Regions from separate parts of the Homo sapiens genome. Here region 1 is linked to region 2. Evidence: promoter capture Hi-C in 16 types of primary human blood cells and fetal thymus (Javierre and others, 2016). All regions are on one chromosome and are shown on one strand. Each heading gives the region's core, a stretch centred on a gene start or on the middle of the fragment in contact. The rest is flanking DNA. Distances are from core to core; before and after follow the strand shown.

Region 1 (3,627 bases), core at 273-2,772, 560 kb before region 2:
ATCCCTGTAGTCTGATCTAATCGCACGGGCCTTTAAAAGCAGAAAACTTTCTCAGGTTGGAGGCAGTGTGACACAGCAGCATAAGTTAGAGAGATCTGAAGCATGGGAAGGCTCTGAGATGGGACCCACAGGCAAGGACTTCAGAGGCCTCTAGGAAATCATGGAAAGCATGAGAAGGAATGTGGGCAGCCTCTAGGAGGAAAGACCAGGCTTCAACTGACAGCCAGCATAAAAACAGGATCTCCAACAACTTAAATAACCTTGGAAGTAAATTCTTCCCCAGAGCCTCCGGTAAGGAATATAAAAGCCTTGCTGACACCTTGATTTTAGCCTGGCAAGACCCATGTCCGATTTCTAACCTACAGACTGTGAGATAATAAATGGGGATTGTTTTAATCCACTAAATGTGTGGCATTTGTTAAGATTGGAATAGAAAACTAATACACTGGTCACTTTTTATTTTCTTTATATAAAAATGCTAGTGTCATCGCTAAATATCAGGGAATGTATATACAATGTACTTACGCACACAGACATATGACACGAGTGATTTTTAAATATTCTAAAGGAGTGTTTGAAAAAATGGGTATAAAGGCTCTAATCTACACACGCTAATAAGCTTTAACATTTGGCTTCCTCAATTCCACCTTTTTCAAGTCACTCGTTCACTTGTTAAGAAATCTGCCACTTTCTCACTTGGGCAAGATGGCATTTTTAGACTAATGAACTTCCCTGTATTTTCAAAGCTATACACTACCTAGGCTGCTGCTGTTCTTTGTTCTTATCTCCATCTGATCTGCTGGAAAACATCTATGTTGCAATTCCTTCTACATAAAGTTACTACAGTATTTCTTCTCAGTTACTTTGCCTGAACACACAGAAACTGTTCACATTCTATAATTTTTTGCCACAGGTTTATTCAATCCCAAAAGCTATACATATCTGATAAAATGGCAATGGCTAAGTAGATATATCTATTCTTGATTGACTATTATGCAGATACTTAAAATTGGAGTCATGAAAATCAATTTTCTACTTTATTACCTAGTTATATTAAGTGAAAATTTTAAAAGTTGACCACTTTATAATTAAAGTATGCATCAAGTTCACAAAAGAAGCTTAGTGTTGGTTGCATTAGGGAGGGAGATGATTTTATATATTGTGACTATACATTTTACCAAAAACATTAAATGACATTAAATTTGTAACATAATCCACATGCAGATACTGCTTCTCATAAAACTTCCTATCACTCTCTTTACTATCTACTTAACTTGCAGCAACTATTCCGGTGCAGCTTTGGGTATGTGTGTGGGTGGGGAGGGGGGTACTGTTTATAAATTTTGGTCCTCTTTCCCCTTAAAAATATAAGCTTCTTGAGTTAAGGGACCACATCTATTAGTTCTTTTGTACATAATCAGTACCAATTATAGTGCCCTTAACACAACGGGCTGATTCTAACAAAATGCTGACTATTCACAAGTATACCTCTAAGAAGGCATTAACATTTTCCATACAGATGTGAAAAAATTGTAATTCAAAGGTGACAATGGAAAACAATATATTCTAATTTATTAATATCTTACACAGCACCTGGAAAACCTTCACTATAATCAGTGAACTATAAAAGCTTGTGCTGCTGCATGTAGAAAAGGAAATAAATGTTCAAGGTACTGCCAGAGACTGGAAACAGGTGATGAGAAAGAGCTAACAAACAACTGAAGCATGTGGACCAGGCTAATGAGGCTTTCATTTCAGCCCTCAACTGATGAAGCCCCTATCTACTAAACCATTTTCTGGCGTTTATTTTCATATTTACCACAATAGACACATGAATGCCCACACAATTTTCTGATTTCAAAATCAGAACTAATTCAAAAAGAAAACAATGATAGCTGTACCACTTTGGATAGTAAGAAAAGCTTTCTTACAGAGATTACATGTCTGATAAAAAATTTGTGAAAGCATATTCTTTAGAAAAATAAGTAGAAATGTGTGCATATTAACAAAATGTACTGCCTTCGGAAAAGGAATTTTACAAAACTAGTAATAATACCAACTGAAGGAAGATGCCTTTATTACTTTAAACGATTTTAAAATAACGGTTTGTATAAACATCTGCTTGCAAAATCAGTATGCACTAAAAGTTAATCCATATGATGCAGTCCAAGTACTTACTATAAGTAATACTTGTTTTAGCTTGCTTTATCTTTGTTTGATTTCTAATTCATTCTTGGGCTGAAATATGCTCGCAAAATTGTGGTGTGACAAATACGCATTTTAAAAATGAGTTATTCTTTAATGACAAAACATTAAATAATAGCAATTGTTGCCCAGCCTGGAGTGCAGTGGCATGATCCTGGCTCACTACAACCTCTGCCTCCTAGGTTCAAGTGATTCTCCTGCCTCAGCCTCCTGAGCAGCTGGGATTACAGGTGCGCGCCACCACAGTGGGCTAATTTTTGTATTTTTAGTAGAGACAGGCTGGTCTTGAACTCCTGGCCTCAAGTGATCTGCCTGCCTCAGCCTCCCAAAGTGCTGGGTTTACAGGCGTAAGCCACCGCGTCCAGCCAATAATAGCAACTATTACAGTGACTTATAATATGCTGTCCCCCAATGCACTTCATATCTTGAAGTCAAGGGATAAAGGAGGAAGATACATACACTGTAGGCGTTATTTTTAAGGGGGAAAAATTCTCAATCATACAACTAAAAGTTATCACATGTATAATATGGGCTGCAAGTTTTCCTCTCTAGTTGTACCTATTTATACTTCATATTTATAAGTGAGATAATAAATAAAAATAAACACCTTTATCATGCACACTTGCTAGCCTAATGCCATTTTTATAAATATTATCCCATGGTACCATCATTAGGATAGCAAAGATACTTATTTACAATAAACTTCTACATTCATGGGAACATATTCCAAGACCTTTATGTATCTCCAAACTACCAAATCAGTGAACGATATAATTCACCCTAGAAAATGCAGTGATATATAACCATGATAATGACAGTAAAGCCACAATGAGATGCAGGCTCCTTAGATTACATATCTAATCATATGCAATTTGGTGAAAGCAGAAATAATGATTTATACAAATTCTCTCTAAACTTTATATTATTGTAAGTCTAAGTAAGTTTATTTCTTCCAATAGAAAAGTTCCTGGTATCAATTTTGAAAAATGGTATAGTCTTATGAAATAATTAATTCATCTCTTTTGAGGAGAGGGAAAGGCAGTATTTTTCATTAGAAAAATCAGGTTTTCTTGGCTGGTGCATGGTGAGCACGGTGGCTCACACCTGTAATCCCAACACTTTGGGAGGCCGAGGCAGGCAGAACACCTGAGGTCTGGAGTTAGAGACCAGTCTGGCCAACATGATGAAACCCCATCCCTACTAAAAATAAAAAATTTATTGGGTGTGGTGGCACATGCCTGTAGTCCCAGCTACTTAGGAAGCTGAGGCAGAAGAATCGCTTGAACCCAGTAGGAGGAGGTTGCAGTAAGCTGAGATCATGCCATTGCACTCCAGCCTGGGCGACAGACAGAGTGAGACTTTGTCTCAAAAAAAAAGAAAAGAAAAAGAAAAATTAGGTTTTCTTAATGAGAACATCATGAG
Region 2 (3,946 bases), core at 711-3,210:
TGCAGTGGGCTGCGGTATCAAGAAACCTTTAGCCATATGCACATGATGTAGTGCTACCTGTCACCCACTCTGAGTGCTAGAGACCCATGAAGCCTATCCTGGAATTCAGTGCAGCCTACATGCTGCCATTCAAAATTCCCACCTTATGCAGTGTCTCCAAGCAAGGGCCCTTCTGAGTTCAATCCAAAACAACTGAATGAATGAGATGCAACATGTCAACAATTCGAATGTTTATTTTGTTTAAGGAAACCAGCTGTAAACAAAACGTATCTGTTGTTTTCCATGCTTATGAATCTGGCACTAAGAGACTGCATTAACCAATGCCTTTTTAGGTTTAATACTTACACACGGTAATATGTTACTGGCTTTAAGGACATCAATGATTAAGCTTTCATGCAGAGCTGTACGGTTTTGTATAGTTGGAAAACAACACTGATTTTGAGATCACTACAAGCAAATAAAACTTTTATTCCTCCCAATTATTTACCTGCTTTTCAAATTTTTATAAATTTTTATGACACAATTTCTTCAGTCTATTAAATATTCCAAAAAAGAGGCTAATACAGTTGTTATAAGAAACTCCGCAAATGCAGTCAAGTGTTACCTTGTCACTATAATTAAAGTTTTCTTATGCGAGTAAATGAAACAAACAATCCAGCCCCACACAGGGAAAGCCAGCATTGCCTTGGGGGCAGCAGAACGCGGCACAGCACCGCCCGCCAAGGCCGCAAGATGCCGCAGAATGACTGCTGCAGCAGCCGCTTCCTGGCCAGGTGGCCGTGGCCGTCCGCAGAAAGGCACACTGCAGCGCTCTCGCTATACCTTCCGTGCTGGCATTGCATCAGTGTTAAATCCCCTGGCCACCAACTGCCATATACTTTTTGCTGGTTATGAAGAAACGTGGGGAGGGGACAAAGGGGAGACAGAGTGTGCCTGCAAGTGTGAGAGATCACTATTGCCTCACACTCCCTAAAAAATTTCTCCCCCAAATGTTTATAAGCCAAGTACCAACTTACTTCATCTGCCAGGTCCCTAAATCTGAAATCGCCTTGCCCTTCAAATGCACTAAATGAGTCAGGGTTTTAGGGCAAACCCAGGGATACAAGAAGATCGAAAGTGCCCAATTCTTAGCTGCGAGATAAGCACCAAGTTTGGGGTGGAAGAGTTCACCTCTGCCGACCAGAGCGTACTACCCCGGAGCGCTCCTAGTTTAGAGAGGCTTGGAGAGGAGTGGGCCTCCCGTTCCTGGAGTATCCCAATTCCCAGGGAAGGCCCTTCCCGGCGCTCGCGCTTCAGAGTGCGAGGAAACCCCCACAAGCAATAGCTCACCCGGCTGCATTCTTCAAAGCCCCAACCTCGGGGCGGGGCGCAGGGAGGTGGGAGGTGGAGGGTAGCACCGCCGGGAGGCTCCTGTCAGCGCCTCTCGGTTTTCCCCCTGGCTCCTTGGCGCCCCCTGACGACGGGCTCCGCAGCAATTTGGCCGAGGGAGGCTGGATAGGCGGAAGCTCCGGGTGTCCGGGAAGCTAGAGGCACCCGGCCAATGCACCCGCGGACGGCGCGGACTGGCGGGCGGCCCCGCGGGAGGGCGCTGGGCTCTCAGGCCCGGGTGCAGCCCGCGGACGCCGCCGAAACCGCCGCAGCCATGTCCGCGCGCCCGCGCTGCCGCAGCCTGGCCGTGATGTCATCAGCCGAGCCCCCGCCGCGGCGCCCCATTCCCGCCCCCCGCAGGCTGCCGCGGCTGCAGCCTGAGCGCCGCGTCCCCGCCCCGACCCACGTGCGCCCGGCTTCTGGGATGCTGAGGTCGGCGGCGGCCGCAGGACGATGCGCGGGGCCCGGGCGGCCGCGGCGGCGGCGCTGCTCCTCCCCACTCGCCGCGTCCCCGGCGGGGCTGCGCCCGGGGGCTGCGCACGGACGGGGGCGGGGGCGCCTGGGGAGGGAGGGGAGAGGATCCCAGCCGCCGAGTCGCAGCCTCGTCGCTGTCTGCTGAGTCATGGCAAGCGCTCCCCGCAGCCCTGGATCACTCGCGTAGCGCGGCTGGCGCGGGGTGCGCAGCCATTGGGCTGGGCGCGGGGCCGCGAGCGCCAGGCATGACGCGCTGAGCCGCGCTCACCCGTGCCCGCCGTCCCGGCGTGCGCCCAGCGCGGGTGCCTGTGCCGCCGCCCTCCAGCCCCGCCGTCGAGTCGCCCTCGCCTCGCCCGCACCATGATCGCCGCGGCTTTCCTCGTCTTGCTGAGACCCTACAGCATCCAATGTGCCCTCTTCCTCTTGTTGCTTCTGCTGGGCACCATCGCCACCATCGTCTTCTTCTGCTGCTGGCACCGCAAGCTCCAGAAAGGGAGGCATCCGATGAAATCGGTCTTCTCGGGTCGTTCAAGAAGCCGAGGTAAGACACGCCGCGACGGGTTTCTGCGGGCTACCAGGAACAATTAAGCCGATTTGGAGAGTGAAGCGCGGCTCGCTCCCTTCTCCTCGGCTGCCCCTAGCCCCATCATTGCCCACTCCCCAGGCTGAGTGCGTTTCTTTAACGCCCCTTGCCCTTTTTGCCGTCACCTCCGCCCTCCAGTCTCCCAGGTTTGAATAACCACGGCGATGCCGAGGGCAGGGAGGGGAGGAAAGAACTCAAATTTTTAGTCAGTTTGCTAAAGCCTTAAGGGTAATTTGAGCGTAGTCCGGGGCTGCGCCAGCCTCGCCTTCACGCATCCTTCGCTGGAGCGTAGGGGTAAGAAAGTAAGGCATGGAAACTTCGGGGCTCCCCAACTCCCCCAGAACTTTCATGCAAACTTCTCGCGGAGAAATCACGTAGAGACCGATGGCCCCAGGACTCCTCCTCCCTCCCCCAGGATGTCCCACCGAATTCCAGGAGTCTGCGATGTGCTTTCCCAACCCTGGTCTCCCAGGTAAGTCATGAGTCACTCGGTAGGTGAAGAACAAGGAGTTAAATGAAGTCTCATTTATCTCTTTTCTCCCCAGATGCTGTTTTGAGATCGCACCACTTTCGTTCTGAGGTAATTTATTTAGCGCGCACGCTCAAGGTCAGAAGAAGTTCTCTTTCCTGAGTACCAATATTAATTATATGCGTGTTAAGAAACCAGTAGGACACTGAATGACGAACATGCTGTCCCCTAGCCGAAAGTGGCATGTTTCCTTTTAAGTGATTTCATATTAGTGCCCAGCGAACGGTTTTAGCAAATTTCTTGTGTAGTGGAGCTGTTGTACAAGAGGGGAAAAGGCAAACCCTAAAAGTGCTGCAGACCTTAAAAAACTTAGCCACAGGGTGGATGTCACTTGAGTTTACAGTTTATATTTTGCTGGTGGAAGTGTTTTCTGGGTGCTGTCAGTTGACTCTGGTTGTTCACTTGGATAAACGAAGAGGTTAGTGCAGAACAATTTGATCCATATGCATTTCATTTTCGATTTTCAAGTTTACATTTCTGTTTTCTCCTAAAGCTCTCCATGTTTTATTGGGGACCATCTGATGATTTTTGCAAAGCGATGATGGTAGTGTGTGCTTAAATGCTTGTGCTAGTCTCCACTCTCAAAACGTGGACCATCCCTCTAGGGCAAGTAACTCCTAATCACTGCACCCAGGAACCAGCTCCACTGAAGAAACACAAGCGCTCCTTGACCTAGGATTTCTTTAGGAGTTTTCAGGCCAACCTCCACTTATCCTAAGATAATTTCCCCTCTTTTTAGGAAAGTTGCACGCCGCCAGGCTTGGAGGTTGCTGCTTGGTGCAGTTTACTCATGTTGGCAAAGACTTCATAGTTAAACGCCCTCCATTTACCTGAAGTTATCTTGCCTTTCATTTCATTAGTTAATCAGATATTTTATGCCACCCTAGATGTTTTATTGGGTTCTAGTTGCTTAAAAACTTTAACTGTATTATTGCAATATCATTAAAATGTTGCACAAAGAGTAATTCTACTGTATATAGCCCTGGAAGGTG

Evidence for each region. Contacts are between HindIII fragments. The CHiCAGO score rates a contact against its expected background, and 5 or more counts as called.
Region 1: a fragment that was not itself captured here is called in contact with the fragment with the promoter of DST in region 2 in 6 of 17 cell types (erythroblasts, total CD4 T cells, total CD8 T cells and 3 more); the score reaches 8.1 in erythroblasts.

What each region holds. Positions count from the first base shown.
Region 1 is chr6:57,512,557-57,516,183 of GRCh38, reverse strand. All of the region lies in intron 8 of PRIM2 (DNA primase subunit 2), which reads right to left. Among named protein-coding and RNA genes, the nearest start is that of MIR548U, 120 kb to the right of the region's middle. The HindIII fragment of the contact is 804 bases long and covers 1,121-1,924 here.
Region 2 is chr6:56,952,844-56,956,789 of GRCh38, reverse strand. DST (dystonin) reads left to right here and starts at 1,960. Exons shown (of 104, transcript NM_001374736.1): 1 at 1,960-2,383; 2 at 2,971-3,005. The coding sequence starts at 2,203. It overlaps BEND6 (BEN domain containing 6), which reads right to left and starts at 1,683. Exons shown (of 7, transcript NM_152731.3): 1 at 1,330-1,683. RefSeq lists a silencer at 1,495-2,184 and an enhancer at 2,346-2,977. The HindIII fragment of the contact is 5,182 bases long and covers 391-3,946 here.